Linked DNA regions of Homo sapiens: regions 1 and 3 are each linked to region 2. Evidence: promoter capture Hi-C in 16 types of primary human blood cells and fetal thymus (Javierre and others, 2016). All regions are on one chromosome and are shown on one strand. The core of a region is centred on a gene start or on the middle of the fragment in contact, and the rest is flanking DNA. Distances in the headings are between cores, read along the strand shown. Region 1 holds the start of KRT83 (keratin 83). Region 2 holds the start of KRT73 (keratin 73). Region 3 holds the start of KRT86 (keratin 86).

Region 1 (3,425 bases), core at 334-2,833, 300 kb after region 2:
GATCCCCACTCTGGGATATAACTGGCCCACTCATCCTGAGCGGGAGTGGGAAGGGCAAAAGATGAGAGTCACAGGAGGGTTACTATTAGCCCAGAGTGGGTCAGTGTTGGGTTGTGGCTGGGTCAGGACACAGGTCCATCAGTGGAGTCCTCCTCATCCTCTCCTGACGAAAGCAGTCCAGAGATGTGTGTTTGGAAGGGTTGATGGGCTCAGGTCCTCGGGTTAAGGCAAACCTCCTGGCTCGGTCCGACTGTCCATCCATCAAAGCCATTGCCTGTCCTAACCCAAAGGAACAAGGGCCCAAAGTAAGAGAGCTTGGCTTTAGGAACAGCCACATGAGCTAGCACCCTTCTCTCACCCAGTGTGTTCTCTGAGGTGAGAGAGTGATCTCATTTAAGGACCCTGCTGATGTCCCTCACCTCCCGCACCTTCCCTCCTTCCTGGTGAGTACATACACCCCAAGACCCCATCACTGAGCTTCCCTGCTGGGAACCTAAAGAACACCAATCAGCCTGGACATTGTGAGGGCCTTCCCCCCATCTGTGGCTTCTCATCTTTCCCCCTAGCCAAATGTTGGCTCCCCCACATGCATGCTACCTCCAAACACCCCAGGTCTCTGTAGGATTTCCAGAACCTAGCACAGTGGCTAGTGCATAGTTGGTGGGCACCAAATAAGTATTTCCTGAATAAATGAATAAATGAATAAATGAATAAATGAATACACATAGTCTAGTCTGCAAATCAGAGCCAGACTCTTTTCTGGTCATCTCTCAATCCTGTACTACCCCACCCCAATCCTCCTCAAGCCCAGGTCCCCACTCTCCTCCATGAGTCCCTGGAGCTCTGAGGTATTCCACACTCCCCGCTCCTGATCCCATCAGCAATGACACCTGGAACTCTGAAGCATAGCCCTGGCACTGTCCTGAACTCTCTGAATCAGTTTCTTCCATGTCCCAGATGGTGTCCCTGCACTAGGAATACCCAAAGTGCAAAGAACATGCCCTCCTCCCACCCCAAATCTCTACCCCCACTCCCATCCTTGACCAGGCTCTGAGCAGGAATAGGATAGGAGCGGCCAATCTTGACAATGAGGAAAGGAACCCGCCTTTGAGAAAAAGACAGGAAAGCCTACAGCAAGAGGTTGTCTCAGAGGCAGCCCCCTCCTTGGGACAGGCCAGCCACTCCACCCCAGGGCTTGGCCATGGGTCCAGGGCCCATAGCCTAGCTCTGCCCCTTTCAGAACAGGGTTCAGAGAGCAGGCTTTACCCCAGGTCACTGCACCCATTCCCCTCGCTTGGACCGCAGAATGCAACTAATGCTTTCAGGAACCCCTCTCCCCGCTCCACAGCAGTGCCAGTGGGAGGGGCAGGAGCAAGGAGGAAGCTTATAAAGGGCTTTGAAGATGAAACAGGGCCCGTGGCCAGGGATTGTTGATGCAGCCACACTGAAGAGGCAAGCAGGGTTCTAGCTTAAGAGGCCAGGGTGATGCCAAGCCAATAAAATTCAGCTATTGTCTCTTTGCTCCCTCTTTTAACACCAGCTGCCCCTGGCACATAAAAGGGCCTGCCATCAGCCAGGGAGCACAGGCCCTTGGTTCCATCCTCTGCCATCTACTCCACTGTTCAGACACCTCCTAACCTCCGTCATGACCTGTGGCTTCAACTCCATAGGCTGTGGGTTCCGCCCTGGAAACTTCAGCTGTGTCTCTGCCTGCGGGCCCCGGCCAAGCCGCTGCTGCATCACCGCCGCCCCCTACCGCGGCATCTCCTGCTACCGCGGCCTCACCGGGGGCTTTGGCAGCCACAGCGTGTGCGGGGGCTTCCGCGCCGGCTCCTGCGGACGCAGCTTCGGCTACCGCTCCGGGGGCGTGTGCGGACCCAGCCCCCCATGCATCACCACCGTGTCGGTCAACGAGAGCCTCCTCACGCCCCTCAACCTGGAGATAGACCCCAACGCGCAGTGCGTGAAGCAGGAGGAGAAGGAGCAGATCAAGTCCCTCAACAGCAGATTCGCGGCCTTCATCGACAAGGTGGGTGTCGTCCTGGATCACACCCTTCCTGAACCCCTACTCATGTTCAGAACTCAGGCTGGGCACTGACAGGGAAGTCAAAGGCAAGAACTTGCCCACAGAAGTTCCCAGGCCAAAGGGAAAGGTAGTCATACTTCTAGGACACAGACAGAAAGACAAAAATGGGACCGGGAGCTACCAGACTGATGGGGGAGATTAACTGAAAACACAAAAGCAGAACGAGGGGCAGAGCCTTCCACACTGAGTGATAATATCACCTAGTGAGCAAAGGACCACTGTGTGGGCGCTCAGGGCATTTGAAGCCAAATAACTGCTTAAATGCCAAGGAGATGCTGTCTCCATCAAGGCAGGGCTAATAAGTGTGGTGCTGGAAAACTGTCTGGAAGTGGGTCTCGTGGATGGCACAGAACTCTTTCTATACCACACAGTGATTTGGCCACTGAGCAGGGTCTAGAGTATTTTGTCCAAGCCACTGTTCCTGGGGCTCAGGATCCAGGGGTGAGCAAGAGTCATGGTCCCCATCCTCACAGGCTTTATGGGGAGGCAGGCAGTGCACAGTCTGGGTTTGGTTGAAACCATCTGTGTAGTCAGTGTCCAACTAGAGTTTGCAGCCACCTTCTCCACTGAATCCAGGCAACCACCATGTGGCAGTGATGTGAGAGACTGGGAGAAAAGGCTCTGACTAGGAACATGTTCTGGGGTTGGAAAGAGCCCTCCAGAGCCAAAACCTCAAGAGAGGAGTCACACTAGAGAGATGCCCACCAGAAAGGATCGGGAAAAAAAAATGTGGAATTTCTAATAGCATGAGAGACCAAGGATAGCATAAGATAGGACCTACCAAGGGTGTGGCCAAGTTATTAGACAAAAGAAGCTGAGTGGAGTAGTGGGCCAACCTCATCGCTGGGAGAGGGATGTTCCTATAATTGTCAAAGGGAGAGAAGACACCCCCTGCAGCGCAGAAGATCGGAGTTTGAGCTCTTCTCTGCCACTGTGAGCTCTCAGGCAGTCAGGGAACCTCCTTGGCCTCATCAGTAAAATAAGGGGGTTGGAGCACAGGACATTCCTACTCTCATATTGCAGGTGACTATTATTCTAATTGCATTGTTGTTGTAGGGTTTGAATAATTGGCACATGCTTTATTTTTCAACTTTTACAGTTTGCCTTTCTAAAAAGGTCCACCTGGCTTGGTGTGATTGAACAGCAGTAGCTGTTCAGTGTGGGGTGCCTTTCTGTTAAAGGGTTCTTTTAATCCTCATAGTAAGGTGAGCTTTAACCTCGCCACTCTACAGAGGAGGTGAGTGCTTTATCCAAGGGCACAATGTTAACAAGTGGCAGCAGAATCTGGACTCTTCAAGCATTTTCCATGACACCAGGTAAACTGACTTAGAAGAGATTA
Region 2 (3,218 bases), core at 536-3,035:
TCACCTGAGGTTGGGAGACCGAGACCAGCCTGACCAATATGGAGAAACCCCATTTCTACTAGAAATACAAAATTAGCCGGGCGTGGTGTTGCATCCCAGCTACTCAGGAGGCTGAGGCAGGAGAATCCCTTGAACCCAGGAAGTGGAGGTTGCGATGAGCCGAGATCATGCTATTGCACTCCAGCCTGGGCAAGAAGAGTGAAACGCCATCTCAAAAAAAAAAAAAAAAAAAAAGAAAAAAAGGAATAGAACTTCATGTTAGCTAAAAAAGATTAAAGGACTTCCAAGTGGCATTGCCTTTAGTGAAATTGAAGACATCAAAGAAAATGATTATTCTTAACTAGAAAACAACCATATTGTATAAAACAGAGGGGAGGTTGAATTTGGCAATTGCTTAGTACAACAATTTTAGAGGCATATCATAACCTCTATACAGAAATAGAAAAGAAGGATGGGCCAACTGTTCATTCAAGTACTCCAGCTAGTGAAATACTTGTGTTTTTATGGAGGAAATTCTATACTATGGATATATTTGGGATTTGGGATTTGGGAAACTCTTGGGTCACATACTTTGGCAATGTCAAGGATCCATGAAATTCAAATGTCTTCCCCTACCTCCCCATCTCCAAAATTGTGAGCTAGGTTTGGTCTTCATAATTCGGGACCCAAGAGCCTAGCACAGTACCTGGGAGAGAGTCAGCCCTCAAGAGAAGTCTGTTAAACGAATGGATAAATGAATGAACAAGTAGATGGCTGGCTGGCTGGTTGGACGGATAGATGGACGAATGAATAAGGCGGGCATAGCTCTGAATGTGGAGTCAGAAGACCAGCCAAGGGAGTCCTCAAGGCTGGGGCCTGTGCTTTTTGGGGGCATTTTCATTCTCTGGGATTCACACAAAGAAAGGACTCACTAAATGTTTGCTAAAGGAATGACATCCTCAATTATCTGAACCTTGGTTTCCCCATTTGTGTAATGTGGATCATCACCATTCCCCTCCATGCAGACTAAGTGGATTAAATGAGCTTCTTGTGTGAGGAGCTCTGTTACACTGTAAAGTGCTGCACCAGTGTCAGCCATCGTGAATGGTGCAATGACCATAATTTCAAGGTCAAGAGTCAGGGTAGTGGGATGGTAAAGGGAAAAAGAAGTCAGTGTGTGCAAAGGAAGGTGAGCAGGGCAGCCCGGCTGGCACAGAGGAGCAGGAGAGCTGCCTGGGAGGGCACAGCAGGGGGCTGGCAGCCAGAGGCTGGTCCTGGATTCCCAGTGTGCTCCTCTCCTATGGCCCTGGCCAGCCATCAAACCTGTCTCCAGGAACTCTGGGAAGCCAGGCAGCAGCAGCCTCTTCTTAACCACATAAAAGCAGCTCAGCCAGGGTCCCTGAAGCAGCCCATCTGATGCTGGCATGGTTGTGAGATTTCTAACAGATGACACTGTCAATTAAAGGTCTCCCCTCTGTACCCCTACAATCCCAGGCCCCACCACTCCCTGGGGAACAGCAATTGAGACTGCGACAAACCTCCCACCTAAGATCTTTCTATGGATAATGTGCCCATGCTAATTACACATGTTCATTAGATAAAACTCAAATTACATGAGCAAGACTTGCAAGACTAGCACTTTGGGAGTTTTCAAGTCATTTACCTGGTGTCTGATTTTGCTGGGAGAAAATGATTTCTTGCTTCCAGGCAAACTGAACCCACAAATTAGGCCCATGGCTCCCTCTTGAGTCCTATAAAGTGGGAGCCCAGGATCACAGGCTGGTGAACTGCATCTCAGCTAAGGGTCAGCATCTTATCCCCACTTTCTGGCCTCCCCACCATGAGCCGCCAATTCACCTACAAGTCGGGAGCTGCTGCCAAGGGGGGCTTCAGCGGCTGCTCCGCTGTGCTCTCAGGGGGCAGCTCATCCTCCTACCGAGCAGGGGGCAAAGGGCTCAGTGGAGGCTTCAGCAGTCGGAGCCTTTACAGCCTGGGGGGTGCCCGGAGCATCTCTTTCAATGTGGCCAGTGGCAGTGGGTGGGCAGGAGGCTATGGATTTGGCCGGGGCCGGGCCAGTGGCTTTGCTGGCAGCATGTTTGGCAGTGTGGCCTTGGGGTCCGTGTGTCCGTCGTTGTGCCCGCCCGGGGGTATCCATCAGGTCACCATCAACAAGAGCCTCCTGGCACCCCTGAACGTGGAGCTGGACCCTGAAATCCAGAAAGTGCGTGCCCAGGAGCGGGAGCAGATCAAGGTGCTGAACAACAAGTTCGCCTCCTTCATTGACAAGGTGGGTCTTTCTGGAGAAAGCTGATCTTGGGCTCCCCTTTTAAGGACTCAGGAGGGAGCCACTGCCCTAATTTGTGGTTCAATTTGCCTGAGAGCAAGAAATCATTTTCTCCCAGCAAAATCAGACACCAGGTAAACAACTTGAAAGCTCCCCAGGTGCTGGGCCCATAAGGCTTGCTCATGCCGTAGAGCCCCTTCCTTCCCCCGCCTTCATTGTCCTTGGGGTGCTCCCTGTCTGAAGCAGACGAAGGCAGGACACCTCCCCAGGATGCAGACATAGCCCAGGGAGGAACTGGACAAAGCCTGGACATCAGAGGCAAGGGACCAGGGTTGGAGGGGTGAGAGGAGCCAGCAGCCTAGCCCAGGAAGGTGTCCAGGAAGCAATGAGAGCGGTCTCTGAGTTGAGAAGTAGCAGAGTGACAGCCTGTGAGACTTAGAAGCTAGGCGAAGGAGATGCCCTTGACAGCCTGGGGCATCTAGACTGCCATGCGACCCAGCTGTTCCTCCTGTGTCCCCTGAAAGCTCAGACTCAGTCCGTAACACACACAGCCTATGAGGCAAGGCAGCTGGAGGTCACGGTGCCCTAGAGCAGTGGTTCTCAAAGGTGGCCCTGGAACCAGCAGCAGCAACGTCACCTGGACGCTTGTTAGAATGCACACTCTCAGGCTCCACCCCAGAGCAACTGAATCAGAGACTCTGCAGCAGGGCCCAGCACCCTGCATTTTAACAAGCTCTCCAGGTGATGCTGATGTACACTCAGGTTTGAGAATCACTGAGGAACAAAGTGGTAGGAAGGTATTGGGAAGCAGAGACTTCCTAAGCTTAGAGGAGCAGGGGAAGCTCACCCGGAGCGACAGTGAGGTAGGGTGGTGAGGCATGAGTAGGAGTTTTCAGATGGAGGTGGGGAAAAGGCAATCTAGGGAGACAGCACGTGCAGCATGGTAGAACTTGTC
Region 3 (3,044 bases), core at 115-2,614, 340 kb after region 2:
TCATAAATAATGGTCACCATCCCACCATGGCCACTCTGTTGCCCCCCACTCCCACCTCTCACCTGACTCTCAGCACTGCCCACCTCCACCGTCAGCCACTGGATGGCCTGATTAAGCCTGTTCAGATCCTCCTTGCTGGGCTTCAGGCTCTGCGTGTGTTTCTGCACAGTTGCCTTTAATTCCTCACACTGTGGAGCAGACGGCAGAGGGGAGCTGTAGTCAGGAGGTGAGGAGGCCAGACAGGGCTGCCCATCCACCTGCTGTCACCAGTGGTCACCTAGCTTCTCTGGGCATCCCTTTCTCCATCTGTGAAATGGGAGTGATCATTTTTCCTATCTCCAAAGGTTGTTGAAAGAACACAGTGAGCTTGCCTTGTGCCCATGGGGCCAGAAGATGCCAAAGGAAGCCTGAACTCAGGCAGGAAGGGCAGCAACACAGGGCAGTGATCTGTTGAGGGGAGCTTTGGGACCAAGATCACATAGGGTTTATCCCAGGAACAGGGAGAGTTAAACTCTAGGAAACTGATTATTGTAGTTTACAACATCTAACCATTTAAATTAGTACAAAAAAAATTAATGAAATTCAATATTTCCTAATTTAAAAAACACATTTTAAAATCTAGGATTAGGAAGAAATGTCCTTAATTTGAATGCCATTAATCAGAAACCAGGGACAGTGATCTAGATTCCAGCTTCTTCCCCAAACCCAAGGCTGCTATGGGAAGTGCTGTCTATGAAATCAGGGGACCACTTCCCTTCTTGCACCTCGCCCCCATGTGCATTCAATACACGAATAGCCAGGGAACAATAACTCACACTTGCACAGTGCCTGATGCTTTTCACAAGCTTTTACTCCACGATCTCACTGGGGCCTCACAACCACCCATGAAGTTGGCCAGATGGATGTGACTTTTCCCATTGTCTTTCCTCAGGCAAACTGGGGCTCATTCCATCCACCACGTGCAAGAGGGGAGTGAGTGACCCTGCCAGCCGACAGTTGAGCCAGACTACATTTTAAGCCCATGCTCTTTGCTCTCCACCAAGGTTATACACACCCCCTCAACCCAGAGAGCAAGAACTGTTCACACCAGCCCATTGCAAACTTTCTTCTAGGGCAGATGGAGTGTGGGGGAACAGACCTCAAAACATCATCTCAATTTCTGCTGTGTTCCCACTGCCCCCAACTTTTCTGCTCCTGTTCCCAAAAGCTGTATGCCCAACAGATCTGGGTGAAGTCCAAGACACCTCATCCCTGTGTGACCAGGGAGCCACGTGTATGAGTCTCACCATGGAGAAAGAACTGTGGTCTCCTCCAAGCCTCTCTTGAGCACCAAAGCCCAGCTTCAGCCCAAGAGCTACCAGAATCCTTGCCACTGAGGACTAGGGCCTCTTCTTCCTGGGGGCTCTGTGACCTCATCTCATTACAATCACAGAGTTCTGCCCAGGAGGCCTCAGGGGCATAGGGTAGAAGAGGGCCATACTCTGACCCCAGGTGGGAAAATGGAAGTTTCTGGGCTGAAGTGGAACTTAAAGGAAAGTGGAGGAGGGGAAGGCTACCTCAGGTGGAGGAAATGTGTGGAGCTGAGGAGCTTAGGCTTATGGATGGGCACTGGGGAGCCACAGAGGGTGTCTGAGCAGGACAGTGGCCTGACATGAGATGTGATTGTCTAGAAGCAGTGCAGAAGATTGACAGGAGGGCAAGAAATTGGGACTGGGGATGCCAGTCCCAAGACTTGGTAGGAAATCTTGGGTAGGGCAATGACTTTAACCTGTAGGAATGAGTAGGGGCTAGAGAGCACAAGCTGTGGTCAGCATTTTCTTTTTGTTTTATAAATTTCTCATATATGCAAAAGAGTATGCAAAACCTACATTTATTGATTTCAATAGCAACAATAATAAAACAAATCCTTGTGTACCCACCAGTACCTTCAAAGCCCCCTGCGGGATTTTTGCTGATCCATCTCCAACCCCATCTGATCCCCAAAGTAACCACTGTCCTGAGTTTTTATATTGGTCATTCCCTTGCTTTTCTTTATTACTATGTCATAACGTGTATCCATAAACTAGTGTTGAGTTTTGCCTACCTTTAAGTTTTATATAAATAGAATTACACCTTGTACATTTCTATGACTTGCTTTTTCCTCCTCAACATACTAGTTTTGAGATTCATCTTTTTGATGCATGTAGTTTTATTTCTCAGTGTTGTATAGTATTCCAAAGTATGACTACATATATATAGATAGATACAGATATAGACACACACATATACATATATCTCTATTTTCCTATAGGTAGCACATGTGTTTTTTGTTTTTGTTGTAACAAACAATGCTGCCATGAACTTTCTTGTACATATCTGCTGGTGGACCTCAACAAGAGGTTCTTTGGGGTACTAGTTGTCAAACTGTTTTTTAACCTCAACTCTAAATAAGAAATATATGTTGTATCATGAATCACTACCTACGTACAAATACACCACATCTACTGAAATAAGTTTCATGGAAAAATCATTTACTTCTACTATGTGTAAGGCAATCTGATCTAACCAATCACCTTAACACATTCTTTTACTTTCAACTTATGTCCTCATGTTTTAAGTTTATTTCTTATAACTAGCATATTACTTTATTATTATAATATAATGAAAATGAAATACTCATGAACCTACTTACTGATCCCAAAACTAAAATCTTACTAGTAATTTACATTTAGCTCCATGCTCCTTCCCTACCCTGTCCTCTCCTAACCACCCCAGAGGTAACCACTTCCCTAAAGTTGATATAATTCCTTTGTTTTTTCTTAGCTTTATCAAATACATGCATATGCCTCAATATATATTTGTTTCAGTTTTTTTGTTCTTTTTTTATAAAAAGTGTGTCACACAGGGTCTTGTTTTATTCAACATTATGTTGCTAGTATTCCTCCATTATAATATTAATATTCCATTCTTATAGTATTCCATTGTGTAACTATACCACACTTTAGGTAATTCTATTACTGTTTTGTTTTGTTTCTTTCTCTTACAAAGGTGGTGCCATGAACATT

What was found. The method cuts DNA at HindIII sites, captures the fragments that hold promoters and counts their contacts. A CHiCAGO score of 5 or more calls a contact.
Region 1: the fragment with the promoter of KRT83 here is called in contact with the fragment with the promoter of KRT73 in region 2 in 6 of 17 cell types (total B cells, M2 macrophages, neutrophils and 3 more); the score reaches 8.6 in total B cells.
Region 3: a contact is called between the fragment with the promoter of KRT86 here and the fragment with the promoter of KRT73 in region 2, in 2 of 17 cell types (neutrophils and M2 macrophages). The highest score is 7.3, in neutrophils.

The regions. Positions count from the first base shown.
Region 1 is chr12:52,319,556-52,322,980 of GRCh38, reverse strand. It overlaps KRT83 (keratin 83), which reads left to right and starts at 1,583. Exons shown (of 9, transcript NM_002282.3): 1 at 1,583-2,029. The coding sequence starts at 1,646. The HindIII fragment of the contact is 9,694 bases long and covers 1,386-3,425 here.
Region 2 is chr12:52,617,126-52,620,343 of GRCh38, reverse strand. KRT73 (keratin 73) reads left to right here and starts at 1,785. Exons shown (of 9, transcript NM_175068.3): 1 at 1,785-2,266. The coding sequence starts at 1,820. The HindIII fragment of the contact is 4,368 bases long and covers 1-3,088 here.
Region 3 is chr12:52,272,965-52,276,008 of GRCh38, reverse strand. It overlaps KRT86 (keratin 86), which reads right to left and starts at 1,364. Exons shown (of 11, transcript NM_001320198.2): 1 at 1,287-1,364; 2 at 63-188. It overlaps KRT86-AS2 (KRT86 antisense RNA 2), which reads left to right. Exons shown (of 2, transcript NR_199073.1): 2 at 932-3,044. The HindIII fragment of the contact is 3,258 bases long and covers 848-3,044 here.